Linked DNA regions of Homo sapiens: region 1 is linked to region 2. The links are contacts of gene promoters, found by promoter capture Hi-C in blood cells and fetal thymus (Javierre and others, 2016). All regions are on one chromosome and are shown on one strand. The core of a region is centred on a gene start or on the middle of the fragment in contact, and the rest is flanking DNA. Distances in the headings are between cores, read along the strand shown.

Region 1 (6,495 bases), core at 571-3,070, 130 kb after region 2:
CTTGGAGTCAAGATTTGGACTCAGGCAGATTTGACTCCAGAGTCCAGATTCTTAATTATGAGATTCAGTGAACTTGCTTCCTACTCCCTTCCCAGCCTATTTCCCCAAAAAGAATTTTAAAGAAAGAATTAGTTTTATTTCCCCCTTATTCATAATGTATTTTTCAGGATGATGGGATTTAGTGAAGAACCAGGAATAATTCCAAGATTTTGTGAAGATCTTTTTTCTCAAGTAGCCAGAAAACAAACCCAAGAGGTATGTTCTTATAATACCTGCAAGCTTCTTTTCAGAGTAGAAAATAGTCAAATCAAGTTCAAATCAGTCATGGCCACTAAGGAAATACTTAATGGAAGATCAGTTCTAATTTGTAGATCACTCTTCTTTGGAACAGTGGTATGGAGAGGGAGGGTGGAAATTCTAAATTCAGAATCAGTTTCACCTAGTGGGCAGTGATAGTGAAGTCATCTCTTCTGTCTTTTCTCCCTTGTTTTTGCTTTACTTTTGTGTATACGTAGAGGCTCACAAACATGGTAGCTATGTGCTGTTATACGTGTGTTTGTAGTCAGATAGGTGTACAGTTTAACTAAGGACAGCAGGCATAACCTTTTGGACAACGTGAATCAGAAAGAGTAGTGAAATTGGGATTTGAACCCAGAGTTGACTTCAAAAGCCATGCTTTTTCCACTCTACTACACCTGAATAGGCTGTACTGGCTTCCTATTTCACTTATTCATTTACACATTCAGCTACCTTTTACTGAGCATTCTGCTGTTGCCAGGCAGCTTGTTAGATCAGTTTTTTTTTTTCTCAAATTTTCTTGGTCATAAGAATCACCGGGGATTCTTGGCAGGGACATATATGTGCATGTGTATGTGTATGTACACACTTGCTAAAAATCTCTTCTGGGGGTTCTGAGTCAGTTGGTCTGGTGTAGAGCTTGGGATTTTATAATTTTCATGCTTTTCCTCCAGTATTTTTTATGATAAAGGAAATTGGGAAAATTGTGCTAGATTAGGGGTGTGGAGTTAAAAGACCCAGTCCCTGTATTCAAAGGAGTGTAGTGGGAGAAATAAGTTAACAGCCAAGTACAATCAATTAAATGCTAAACAAACTAAAGTAGATGCTCTAATAGAACATGTAAGTGAGGACATATAAAGTTGGAGGGAGACATTCTCTCAGAGGAAGGAGCAGCTGAGCTTATTTTTGAAGGATACATAGCATTATTAGCTTGGTAAAGAAGGGGAGAAGGATATTCCAGGGAGAGGGAGCAGCATGTACCAAGATTTGAAAGCAAAAAAGTAGGGAGCCTTTGGGAATCTATAAATTGTTCACTGTGTTTTGAGCATGGAATTTGAGGGTGGAAAGTGATAAGAGAAGAAACTAGAGGCTGGGTGCGGTGGCTCATGCCTGTAATCCCAGTACTTTGGGAGGCCGAAGCGGGCAGATCACCTGAGGTCAGGAGTTCGAGACCAGCCTGGCCAACATGGTGAAATCCTGTCTCTACTAAAAATACAAAAATTAGCCAGGTGTGGTGGCACATGCCTGTAATCCCATCTACTTGGGAGGCTGAGGCAGGAGAATCGCTTGAACCAGGGAGATGGAGGTTGCAGTGAGCCGAGATCGCGCCACTGCACTCCAGCCTGGGTGACAGAGCATGACTCCATCTCAAAAAAAAAAAAAAAAAAAAAAAAGAGAATAAACTAGAAAGGCCTGCAGAACTTGGCTCATGAAGGACTGTCTTAGTAAGGATAACTGGTAAGACTTGCTGATTATTGGAAATGGAGGATGAGGGAGAGAGAAATCAATGTTTCTGGTTGGACAACCAGATTAGATATCGATGTCATTTTTTGAGATCACAAGAGGAAAAGTAGATTTGAGTAATTGATGAGTTCTGTCTCTTCTGTGGATATACTGCCTCTCCTCTGTCTTCTTCTACCCTCAACCTCTCATTCCCAGTAATTAAATTGAAAATAGGAGGAGTATGGGGATCAATAGAAATATGGTGGTATTGAGACTATGAGATGAAATATGATTCAAGTCCAAGTTTAGTGGGCATAAGAGAAAGCTGTGGGCTTGTGGGGCAGAGTTCTCTATTGGCTCTCCAGATTTTAGAGGGATAGTAATTTGAAGGTAAAGCCAGGAAGACATAGATAAGTGTAGTGGAGGCAAAGGTCTTTGGAATGATTTCAAAGGACTAGGAGGCTCAGATTTTGCGTGGAATGACTATGTCATTGAATAACATAGTGTAATGAATGCTTAAGAGCCTGGTTGGCCAGGCATGGTGGCTCACGCCTGTAATCCCAGCACTTTGGGAGGCCAAGGCAGGCGGATCACCTGAGGTCAGGAGTTTGAGACCAGCCTGGCCAACATGGTGAATCCCTGTCTCTACTAAGAATACAAAAATTAGCCAGGTGTGGTGGTGGGCGCCTGTAATCCTAGCTATTCGGGAGGCTGAGGTAGGAGAATCGCTTGAACCCTGGAGGCGGACATTGCACTGAGCTGAGATCATGCCACTGTACTCCAGCCTGGGCGACAGAGCAAGACTCTGTCTCAAAAAAAAGAAAAAAAAAAAGAGCATGGACTTTGGAGATACATTATTTGAATTTGAATCTCAGCTTCATCACTGCAGTAGAAATGTGATCTTGAACAATTTACTTAATGTCTTTCTGTGTTTCAGAACAGAAAATAGAGATTATATTGACAATGTCTTTCTCATAGGTTTGTTGTGAGCATTAAATGAGTTGATCTATACAAAAGGTTTTGAAGAGTGCCTGGCACATAGTGAGCCCAACTAAATGTGGTTATATCAACTTTGGAATTAGCCAGGATGGTAGAGAATAATAGTATGTGGATGGGGGTAATAGAAGGTGGTATAGCGAGCATGATGGCAGGAGCCTCAGAGGAGAAGAAAAAAGTAGGACCTCTCCAGTGTGGCCCCAGCTACCTTTTCCAATTTGTTTCCCACACTACATTTTCATTTCTAAGTCCTCCTGGAGCCTCTATAACATAAAATACTATTTTACATAAAATAAGCATTATTACGTGTTTATTGAATTCTGACAGCCCCCATCCCTGTTCATAGCATTTGTCAATGACCTTATAATTACTTGGTGTTCCCTTATACCTGGTCTCTTTGGAAGTGTTTTGTTTCTCTCTCATGACACCAGCTATATTCTGCCTTGTATTACTCATGTACTGTATTGCATCTCCAATTAGCTTCTGAGTTTTTTCAGGATAAAAACTATGTCCAGTTCATCTCATATTTTCCCACAGCTCCTAGAAGAGTGCTTTGTACCTAGTAGGGCACAATAAATATTTGGTGAATTGAACTTAAATCTCTTTGACACTCCCTTGAAGCTTCCAATTCTGTTAGATGCTTGCTGACTCACTTCTGGGTCAGTGGATGAAATTTATTTCTCTAATAAGGAAACCATGCCCTAACTGTCAGAAGAGCTGTTTGGAAGCAAAGTTTCCCGTTTTTGGCCTCTACACTGTATCTTTCAGAGTCAAAAGGAGGAGAAGCTCAGCCCACTTAATCTAATGATTGCTTTCTCTCCCAATCAGGAAGAATTGTTGATTTAAGGTTCCATCTTACCAGATCAAATGTCAACCTACAGGGTGTCTTTCCTATTCTGAGCACATGTGATGCACAGATGCTGCTGTCCTTGCCCGAGAATGCCCTACCCCCTCTTTCTGGTTCAATCTACTCTGTCTCTCATGCCTCACATTCTATTTACTCCTTCCCTTTTCTCTGGCCATCCTAAATTTTCCCTTTTCTGATTAGTCATATTTATAGTCATCTCATTTTGATTCTTAATTAATTTTCTATTGCTGTGTTTTATCTATTGGAAGGTATGTTATATGTCTCTGAGATCTTAGCCTCATGAGCAAGAATCTTGTCTTATACTTCTTTATGTCCTGACAATAACCTAAAGCCAAACATGCAGTAGGTAGGTACTTAAGAAATGCTTATTGGATTGAATTGAACCTTATGCAGAAGTTAAGAAGAAATGCAAGGACTTTTGTTGTTATTCATATTAAATTTTTTTTTTTTTTTTTTTTTGAGAGGAAGTCTCGCTCTGTCACCCAGGCTGGAGTGCAGTGGCGCGATCTTGGCTCACTGCAAGCTCTGCCTCCCGGGTTCATGCCATTCTTCTGCCTCAGCCTCCTGAGTAGCTGGGACTACAGATACCCGCCACCACGCCCGGCTAATTTTTTGTATTTTGTATTTTGTATTTTTGTATTTTAGTTTCACCGTGTTAGCCAGGATGGTCTCGATCCCCTGACCTCGTAATCCACCTGCCTTGGCCTCCCAGAGTGCTAGGATTACAGGCGTGAGCCACCGCGCCCAGCCAAAATTTTTTTTATTGAGATCAAATTCACATAACATCAAATTAACCACTTTAAAGTATATAATTCAGTGGCATTCAGTACATTTATAATGTACAACTGTTACTTCTAGTGCCAAAAAATTTTCATTGCCATCAAAGGGGACCCTCTACCCATTAAGCAGTCACAATCCATTCCCCCTTCTTCCCAATCCCTGGCAACTACTAGTTTGCTTTTGTTCTATGAATTTACCTGTTCTGGAAATTTCATATAAATGGAATCATGCAATATGTGGTATTTTGTGTCTGGCTTCTTTCACTTAGCATAATGTGTTGAGGTTCATCTACATTGTAGCACATACAGTACTTCATTCCTTTTAATGGTTGACTAATATTTCATTGTACAGATATTGCCAGTTTTGTTTATCCATTCATCAGTTGATGGACATTTGGGTTGTTGTTTATACCTTTTGGCTATTGTGAATAGTCCTTCTGTGAACACTGGTGCATGTTTTTGTTTGAATACCTGTTCTCAATTGTTTTGGATGTATAGGAGTGGAATTTCCAAATTTCTATGGTGATTCTTTTTCTTTTTTGAGATGGAGTCTCACTCTGTCGCCTAGGCTGGAGTGCAGTAGCACAATCTCAGCTCACTGCAACCTCCACCTCCCAGGTTCAAGCGATTCTCCTGCCTCAGCCTCCCGAGTACCTGGGATTACAGGCGCCCGGCACCATGCCCAGCTAATTTTTGTATTTTTAGTAGAGGTGTGGTTTCACCATGTTGGCCAGGCTGTTCTTGAACTCCTGACCTCAAATGATCCTCCCACCTCGGCCTCCCAAAGTGCTGGGATTACAGGTGTGAGCCACTGTGCCCGGCCCGGTAATTCTATTTTTAACCTTTCAAGGAACTGTCAACTATTTTCCACATTGGCCGCACCATTTTACATCCACTAGCAATGGAGGAGGGTTCCAGTTTCTCCACATCCTCACCCACACTGGTTGGTTTTCACTTCTTATTATTACTGCCATCCTAGTGGGTGTGAAGTTGTTTTTCATTGTGATTTTGATTTGCATTTCCCTACTGAGAAATGATGTTGAGCATCTTTTCATGTGCTTGTTTGCCATTTGTACGTTCTTCTTTGGAGAAATGTCTATTCAAGTCCTTTGTGCATTTTAAAATTGGGCTGTTTGTCTTTATGTTGTTGAGTTGTAGGATATTTTTATATATTTATATATTTTGGATACTAGTTCCTAACCACAGATATGATTTGCAAAACATCAAAATAAATTATATGCTGTGTTTCTATTCCTACTAGGTCAGCTATCACATTGAAATGAGCTTCTTTGAAGTATATAATGAAAAAATTCACGACCTTCTGGTTTGTAAAGATGAAAATGGGCAGAGAAAGCAACCAGTAAGATTAAAACAATTTATTATTTGTTTTGAATTTCTGTTCTTATAAATGTATCTAATTATTTGAGTTCTCTGGATGGTATAGCTTAAAGTTTTACTAGAATTATATGAAAGCAAATGCTTGGATCTACAGTCCAATTAGATTATTTAGAAAATAAGCAGAGCACTGGCCGGGCATGGTGGCTCACTCCTGTAATCCCAGCACTTTGGGAGGCTGAGGGGGGCAGACTGCCAGAGCTCAGGAGTTCAAGACCAGCCTGGACAACACAGTGAAACCCTGTCTCTACTAAAATACAAAAAATTAGCCGGGTGTGGCGGATTGCACCTATAGTCCCAGCTTCTCCAGAGGCTGAGGCAGGAGAATTGCTTGAACCTGGGAGGCAGGTTGCAGTGAGCCGAGATCAAGCCACTGTACTCCAGCCTGGGCGACAGAGTGAGACTTCGTCTCCAAAAAAAAAAAAAAGAAAAGAAGCGGAACATTATCACTAGTAGAAATTAAATTAGTTATCAGATTTAACCTCTTTATTTTAATGAAGAATTGTATAAAACTAAAGATAAAATATTTGTTCTGAGATTTAGTTGGACCATGTAAGTTGAACACCAGATCCCTAATAGTCTATAAGCCAAAACATAGTAAAACTTTTTAAAATTATATTTTTATTATAGAATATGTATTTCAGTGGATTATTTAGCAAATTCATACCTTGTAGATAATCTGTGAAATAGAAAGTTTCACAATTATATAATCTTTTT
Region 2 (7,023 bases), core at 822-3,321:
TTTTCAACAAATATTTCATATATCTAAACTTCATTAACTAGGGAACAGAAATCTTGTAAAATTACTCTTAAAAGTTACCAAATTACAGAAGCATCTTCCAATGAAAAGCAGCTCTCTAATTTTTTTAACATTTCACAACATGGGCTCCTAAAGCAACACTAAAGAATCATAACGGGAGGCCCTTTTCCTGTTATTTTGCAAAGACTGGGTTATGGAGGGAGTGTTTAACTGCTACTGTACTATACAATTTCTGTGTCAACAGCACACGCCTTCGAAAAACTCATCTATTAAAAAACTTCCCAAAGTAGGGAGTTTTTGTTTCTTTTAATTTATGAAGCCAAAATACATTTGGAAAAAAGAATATGCCTCACTGATAATATGAAATGAAAACTGCACCCTACAGTCAGCAAACTGAACGCTGGTTTTAAATAACTGATTTAATAAGAACTTAACATGCGTGCAGAAGGCTGATACAGCCTTAAAGAATGACAACAAAAATTAATACTGCACTCGACACAGGCCACCTTACATCCAACGGAGCCTGAATAGCAGCCATCATTACAAATGTCAAAATCAATATAGTACTATGCACCATCCACCTTCTTGCAATAATAAAGAAACCAACTCAGATTTCTTGGTGGTGTAATCACAATTATGACTGAGGCAGAAATGTACGCAACACAATGAAGAAAATACCACAAATCAAAACCACTCTATGTAAAAACATAAAATTGCTCACTGGGGGATGGGGGGGACATTTTGCCATCCAATAAAAGGAATCTGGCCAAATCCCACCTGACCATTCACGTGCCCTTCATTGAAGACCAAACCTGCTTTCCTTATTTCTCCTTTCTTTCTCTTCCTAGCCTCCCATCATCTCCCTTAACCTGTACGAGAAGACAGGCACGGGGAGGGAGGGATTCGAGAATCGGGAACAAAAACCGAGATGTGGACCACATCAGGAGGAAGAGGGGAGGGAAAGGGTGACACCACTAACCTGTCCCAAAGGCTTTGGCCACCAGCCAGGCCAGATTGCAGGCGATTTTGGCCCTGGAGAAATCATAGTGGTCAAAAGGCTTGATGGCTGGAACAATGAACGTCTTTCTCATCTCCCTGGGGTCTGCAGCATCCCCCATCTTTCACCGCGGCTCCTCGGGATGTCCCGGCCCTAACCTTCACATGGCGTGGCCTCGCCACCACGGGGGTCGGGAGGGAGGGAGAAGCAAGCTCAAACCATCGGGGCCCGGGCGATGTCCGCCCGGGCGCCGACGGAGGAGAAGCTCAGCTGTCCGCGCCGCGCGCCTGCCGCCTCCCGCGGGAGCCGCCGCCGCCGCCGCCGCCGCTCCCGGGCATAGGAATGTGGCGGCGCCGTCTCCGTCCGTCCGTCCGCGCGAGGTCCGCCCCGTGCCCGCGCCCCTCCGAGCCACCCGCCCCGCGAGCCCGCGTGTGAGCGAGGCCGCCTCCCCTTTGTCTCGGTTTAGTCACACGGGCTTGGGGGAGGGTGGAGGCTGGAAGGGCCCGGAATTTTAAGGGAGGGGGGATGGGGGGAGCCTTCAACAATCACGTTGTGGAAAATGTCCCCGCCATCGCGATGCCCGCACGCCCTCGCCTCCCTCTCCCCTTCCCTCGGAGCGGGGAGACCCCTCAGGCCCCGGGTGGGCGGAGGGACGAGCAGGACGAGGGGGAAGCGCGGGGCGAGCTGGCCCACCCAGCGCAGCCCGGCCCCTGCCCGCCGGAGACGCAGCAGCGGAAAACGTCAAAATCACTGCGGCTCACAGGCCGCCGCCGGCCCGTCCCCTCCTCTGTGCTCCCTCCCGTCGCCGTCTCCTCCTTCCCCTGCCGCCGTCGCCGCTGCCGTCTCCCGGGTCTTCCTCCCTTGCTGACGGCGAAGGTGGTGGCCGGGGAGAGGCCGCGAATCCCAAGCTCTCAGTTCCTGTCTTATCAGTAATGTCCTTGTAATTTTTTCCTGCCCCCCTTTCTGCAGCTCGCTGGATCGTTCCCCCTCAGCCGCCGCCGCCGCCGCTGCGGTTTTCCGGCTGCGGCACTGGATGAAGGAGCAGATGCGGAGACTGAGCATGCGCCTTCGCGCGGCTCCGACCCACCCCCCCCAACCCCCGCCCCCGCCCCCGCCCCCTCCCCGCTTCCCTCCCGTCTCCGGCCCACTGAGCATGCCCAGCCTCGCTCCCCGCCCGCGCCCGGGATTCGGGGCGGCTGCCTTTTAATCATCGCTCTGGAGTACTCGCTTCAGTGGACATCCTCCACGTCCCTGGCTTTTGGCTGCTGCTGCCTGCACTGCTGAGAGAGGAAAAGGAAGGGAGGGAGGAGGGAGAGGCCTGGCAATAGCTTTCGTATTCTACTTACACAGTGCTTCATCGAAAAGAGTTGATATTTACTTAAAATGTTCATTATGTGACACACACTTTGCAGCGAACTTGACCTGCACTATCTCATTTAGCCCTCGCAATAATCCTGAGAGGTAGATGTCATTGCTGATTGTCCACGAAAGAGAGGTGGAGTTGATTAGGTCATACATGGAACTTAACCAGGATTGAGGATCTGTGGGGGCTCCAAACCTGTGTTAATTTCATGATATCGAGATATTTTCTTAACTCAGTGCTCTCCACTTAAATTTTATCTCTGAGAGGGCACACGTCCAACAATGCCTCCCCATTCTCTCAGAAAAGAGCATAAATTCTTTCACAAAACAAGCTAATGCCCTTTGTGATCTGGCATCTACAGGCCTTTATAGCTTCATTTTGTCAGAACTGCTCTCTATTTTCTTCAATGAGCATGCCTTCTCAGATCTCTACCTCCTTGCTCAGGGTGGTTCCTCTGTCCACCCAGCTTACTCCTACTGCACCTTCAAACTCCACAGTAGTCACTTCCTCCATGAAGCCTTCCCTGACAGCTGCTGACAACTTTCCAGTCAGGGCTGTCACACAGGTGCCTCCCCTGTTGTTCCCGGAGCACCCTGTTCTTATTTCTGTCGTAGCATCTGTCACATCGTGTGGCAATAATCAGTTACTTGTCGGTTTTTCCCATTGATGACATGATGACAGGGTATATCTCCAGCAGCTATACGGTGCCCAGCCCCATAGTATAATTGCTCAATTAATGGACTACATGTGAATATTATCAAAGTTAACACATACTGAGCTTACTTAAATCACTAGCTCCTCACGTCTCATTTTAATACATTATCTAATTTTATTTTTAAGTGATTGTTGTTGTTATTATTATTATTATTGAGACGGAGTCTTGTTAAGTCGCCCAGGCTGGAGAGTGGTGGCAAGATCTCAGCTCAGTGCAATCTCCACCTTTAGGGCTCAAGCGATTCTCCTGCCTCAGCCTCCTGAGTAGCTGGGACTACAGGCGCGCACCACCACGCCCAGCTGATTTTTTGTGTATTTAGTAGAGATGGGGTTTCACCATGTTGACCAGGCTGCTCTCGAACTCCTGACCTCAGGTGATCCGCCAACCTCAGCCTTCCAAAGCGCTGGGATTACAGATGTGAGCCACTGCGCCCAGCCTATTATTATTATTTTTTGAGACAGGGTCTTGCTTTGTTGCCCTGGCTGGAATACAATGGCAAAATCACAGCTCACTGCAGTCTCAACCTCCCAGGCTCAAGCAATCCTCCCATCTCAGACTCCCATATAGCTGGGATTACAGGCACACATCACCACACCCAGCTAATTTTGTTTATTTTTTGTAGAGATGAGGTCTCCCTATGTTGCCCAGGCTAGTCTCAAACTCCTGGACTCAAGGGATCCTCCCACCTCAGCCTCCCAAAGCGCTAGCATTATCTAATTTTAATCATTATAAAATCCTGTATTATCTTCATTATACAGATGAGAAAACTAAGGCTCAGAAAAAAAAATTAATTACTCTTATTCTGCACAACTAGTAAAGGCAGAGGGCAGCTCCATCAAAAAGCAGGTCCCTTTGTTTCTGTTTAATCCCTGTAAACACTCCTCCTTAAACCTAGTAGGACACAACAGATGAGGCTTGCTAACAATGTGGGATATGAAAAGAATTTGAAAATAATAATATGCCAGAGGGTGGTTGATGTAATTTTTCCAATAATTTAATTAATATTAATAGGGTTTTTCTCATGGGCAAGGAAGGCCCTTTGCTGTATCACATGGAGGTTAATAAAATTAACAGATAGATAACAACTCACAAAGCATGTTCATATGATAACTAATTTCCATATCTATTTTATGAAGTAGGAATTATTATTGTCTTCCAATTCTAGATGCAGGACTGAGAATTGCAAAGATTAAGTGGCATGGCCAAGATTTCATGGTTGATTCATATCTGAGTCTGGCTTCAAATTCAAGCACAGGTCTTCTGGCTCCACTCCTCTGGCACTTTTCCCTGTGCCTGCTCTCTTTCCGCATTATGGAGGCTAACATGTACATAAATAAATTTATAATACAATGTAAAAGTGATAAGTGCTGTAAGAGATATAAAGTGCAGTCAGGGGCCAAGCACAATGGCTCATGCCTGTAATCCCAGCATTTTGGGAGGCTGAGGCAGGTGGATCACTTGCGGTCAGGAGTTCAAGACCAGCCTGGGAAACATAGCAAAAACCTGTCTCTACTAAAAGTACAAAAATTAGCCAGGCCTGGTGGCACACACCTGTAATCCCAGCTACTCATGAGGCCAAGGCACGAGAATTGCTTGAGCCCAGGAGACAGAGATTGCAGTGAGCAGAGATCGCACCACTGTACTCCAGCCTGGGCAACATAGCAAGATTCTGTCTCAAAAAAAAAAAAAAAAAAAAAAAAAAAAAAGGCCGGGTGCGGTGGCTTATGCCTGAAATCCCAGCACTTTGGGAGGCTGAAGGAAGGTGGATCACAAGGTCAGGAGTTCGAGATCAGCCGTGCCAAGATGGTGAAACCCCATCTCTACTAAAAATACAAAAATTAGCTGGGCGTGGTGATGTGCGCAAGTAGTCCCAGATGCTTGAGAGGCTGAGGCAGGAGAATTGCTTGAACCTGGGAGGCGGAGGTTGCAGTGAGCTAAGATCATGCTACTACACTCCAGCCTGGGCAACAGAGCGAGAATCCATCTCAAAAAAAAAACAAAAACAAAAAACAAACCAAAAAAAGCTTGCAGGCAGACCATATATAGGTGGAGGGATTGGGAAGGTTTCTTGGAGACATCTGTTGAATCTAATGTTCTCAAATGCAACTTTGACTGAATTCTAGAGCACATAAATCATGTTAGGAAGAACCTATAGCCCAGAAAGGTTGAAGAGAGATACTGAAACATTTTACCAGTCATTATAATAATCTGCAAGCCAATACAAGATTCTCAGGGCCAGAAATCGTGCCTAATCACCTTGATGTTGCATGTGACCTAGCACAGTAGTTTGCTCTCAATGGGTGCTGGGTAAATACTTGTTGGATTTCATTGAAAACTATTTCAACCTAAATGAACAAGACAAGGAAGAGAAGGAAACAAAGTAAGTTGCTGCAACTTGTCCCTTGATTCAATGGTGATGCATTTAGTAGAGATGGCATTACTAGAACCCCAACTGGGAAGGAGTGTGTTTAGGAATGGGAAAAAACAAAATGCCTAAACAATGAGCAGCTTTTACTGTCAGGGAGGCTGTGAAACAACTTGGGGTCATAGTAGGAGGCTATTATTAAGAGGGAAACACCCTGAGTACAAAGAAGAAGGATTCATTTTCAGGGAGACAGACACTCTAATAGGGTGTTCTTTGTGTCACCTTCAGAATGATCCTTTTAAAACCTGGAAATCTCTGCAGAATATCACTGTCAAAAAGAAATGCTCTCCACTTCCCCTTAAGATATCTGACTTTGTTCAGAACAAAACCCAGTGGTTCTCTGGACCTGCTTGTCCAACTGCACAGCTATCCCTCTACTTTTTATCTCCAGGCCTAGGGGCTCAGTTCATTGAGCAACAGTTACCCTTATTCCCGCACAGACAGCCCTCCTTCTCTCTGTTGTAAACATGTTTCTCTCTTTTCTCCTGGAGAATTCAAAATGCCAGCCAGACTTCCTTCCATATGGCGATCCTCTATTTCTCTGTCTGATAGATTCATAAGTTCATTCATTCATCAGCCAGTATTGATAGAGCCCCTGGGTGCTAGGATGCGATGTTAAACAGACAGCTGAAGAAGCAAAGTTTTGGTAAGAAAACTTGGAAATCCTATGGCCTGAGCAGCCCAGCTCTCCTTCATTGTCATGTCCTTATCTCCGTAAGTTAGAAGCCTTGTGACTTCACCTATAGACGTCTTCAGTGTGTCCCCTCAGAAGCAAAGAAGTACTAAACCAGCAAGCACTATAAGTAGGACTTCACATTATTTTCTTAAATAGAAGGCATATACACATGTACTATCATTCACTTTCAATAAGTTACACTAATAGCAGCTAACAGTTATTGGCACTCTCTATGTAGCAGTCCCGATCCTATAGTAACTTATTTAATCCCCACCACAGCCCCTATTATCATCCTCATTTGGTGGCTGGAGAAACCAAGGGGCAGAAGACTTAATTTTGAGTGGTGAAGACCTTACGTTCCTTTGAAACTCAAGGGACTAGAATAAGTAAACTTCAAATCAACCAGGTTAAGAATGGCCAAGGGTGGGCGTGAAGAGGGGAGAAAGAATGCTAAGCTAATTGATGACAATAAGAGGTTCACTTGGTTGAAGTATAGCCGCCTCTAATAAACCAACATGAGATAGAAGAGTCTGTGCTATATATCTGACAGTCTATCATTTCTAGATACACTCGTGGCTTTCATTGGAATAGCTAGCAAAGTTTTATAAGAATTACCTCATCAACCTTCACAATAGTTCTAGCGAGGCCTGCGTAGTATGATGCCAAGTGTGTGGCTGGAATGACTGACACACCGGGAGGCCACATAACTTTCCAGAGTCACACTGTGAGTCAGTGTCTGAACCAAACAGAGAAACCCGGCTCTCAGGTGTCCAGGTACAGCACCATATTTTCCCAGACCCCTAAAACATTTTTCCTTGATTAATCCCCT

Evidence for each region. Contacts are between HindIII fragments. The CHiCAGO score rates a contact against its expected background, and 5 or more counts as called.
Region 1: a contact is called between a fragment that was not itself captured here and the fragment with the promoter of CAMSAP2 in region 2, in 5 of 17 cell types (non-activated CD4 T cells, activated CD4 T cells, M2 macrophages and 2 more). The highest score is 7.0, in non-activated CD4 T cells.

The regions. Positions count from the first base shown.
Region 1 is chr1:200,608,078-200,614,572 of GRCh38, reverse strand. KIF14 (kinesin family member 14) reads left to right here. Exons shown (of 30, transcript NM_014875.3): 4 at 168-255; 5 at 5,645-5,743. Among named protein-coding and RNA genes, the nearest start is that of KIF14, 9.4 kb to the left of the region's middle. The HindIII fragment of the contact is 3,078 bases long and covers 282-3,359 here.
Region 2 is chr1:200,733,941-200,740,963 of GRCh38, reverse strand. CAMSAP2 (calmodulin regulated spectrin associated protein family member 2) reads right to left here and starts at 2,071. Exons shown (of 17, transcript NM_203459.4): 1 at 998-2,071. The coding sequence starts at 1,136. RefSeq lists silencers at 1,262-1,331, 1,362-1,721 and an enhancer at 2,362-2,441. The HindIII fragment of the contact is 5,817 bases long and covers 1-5,119 here.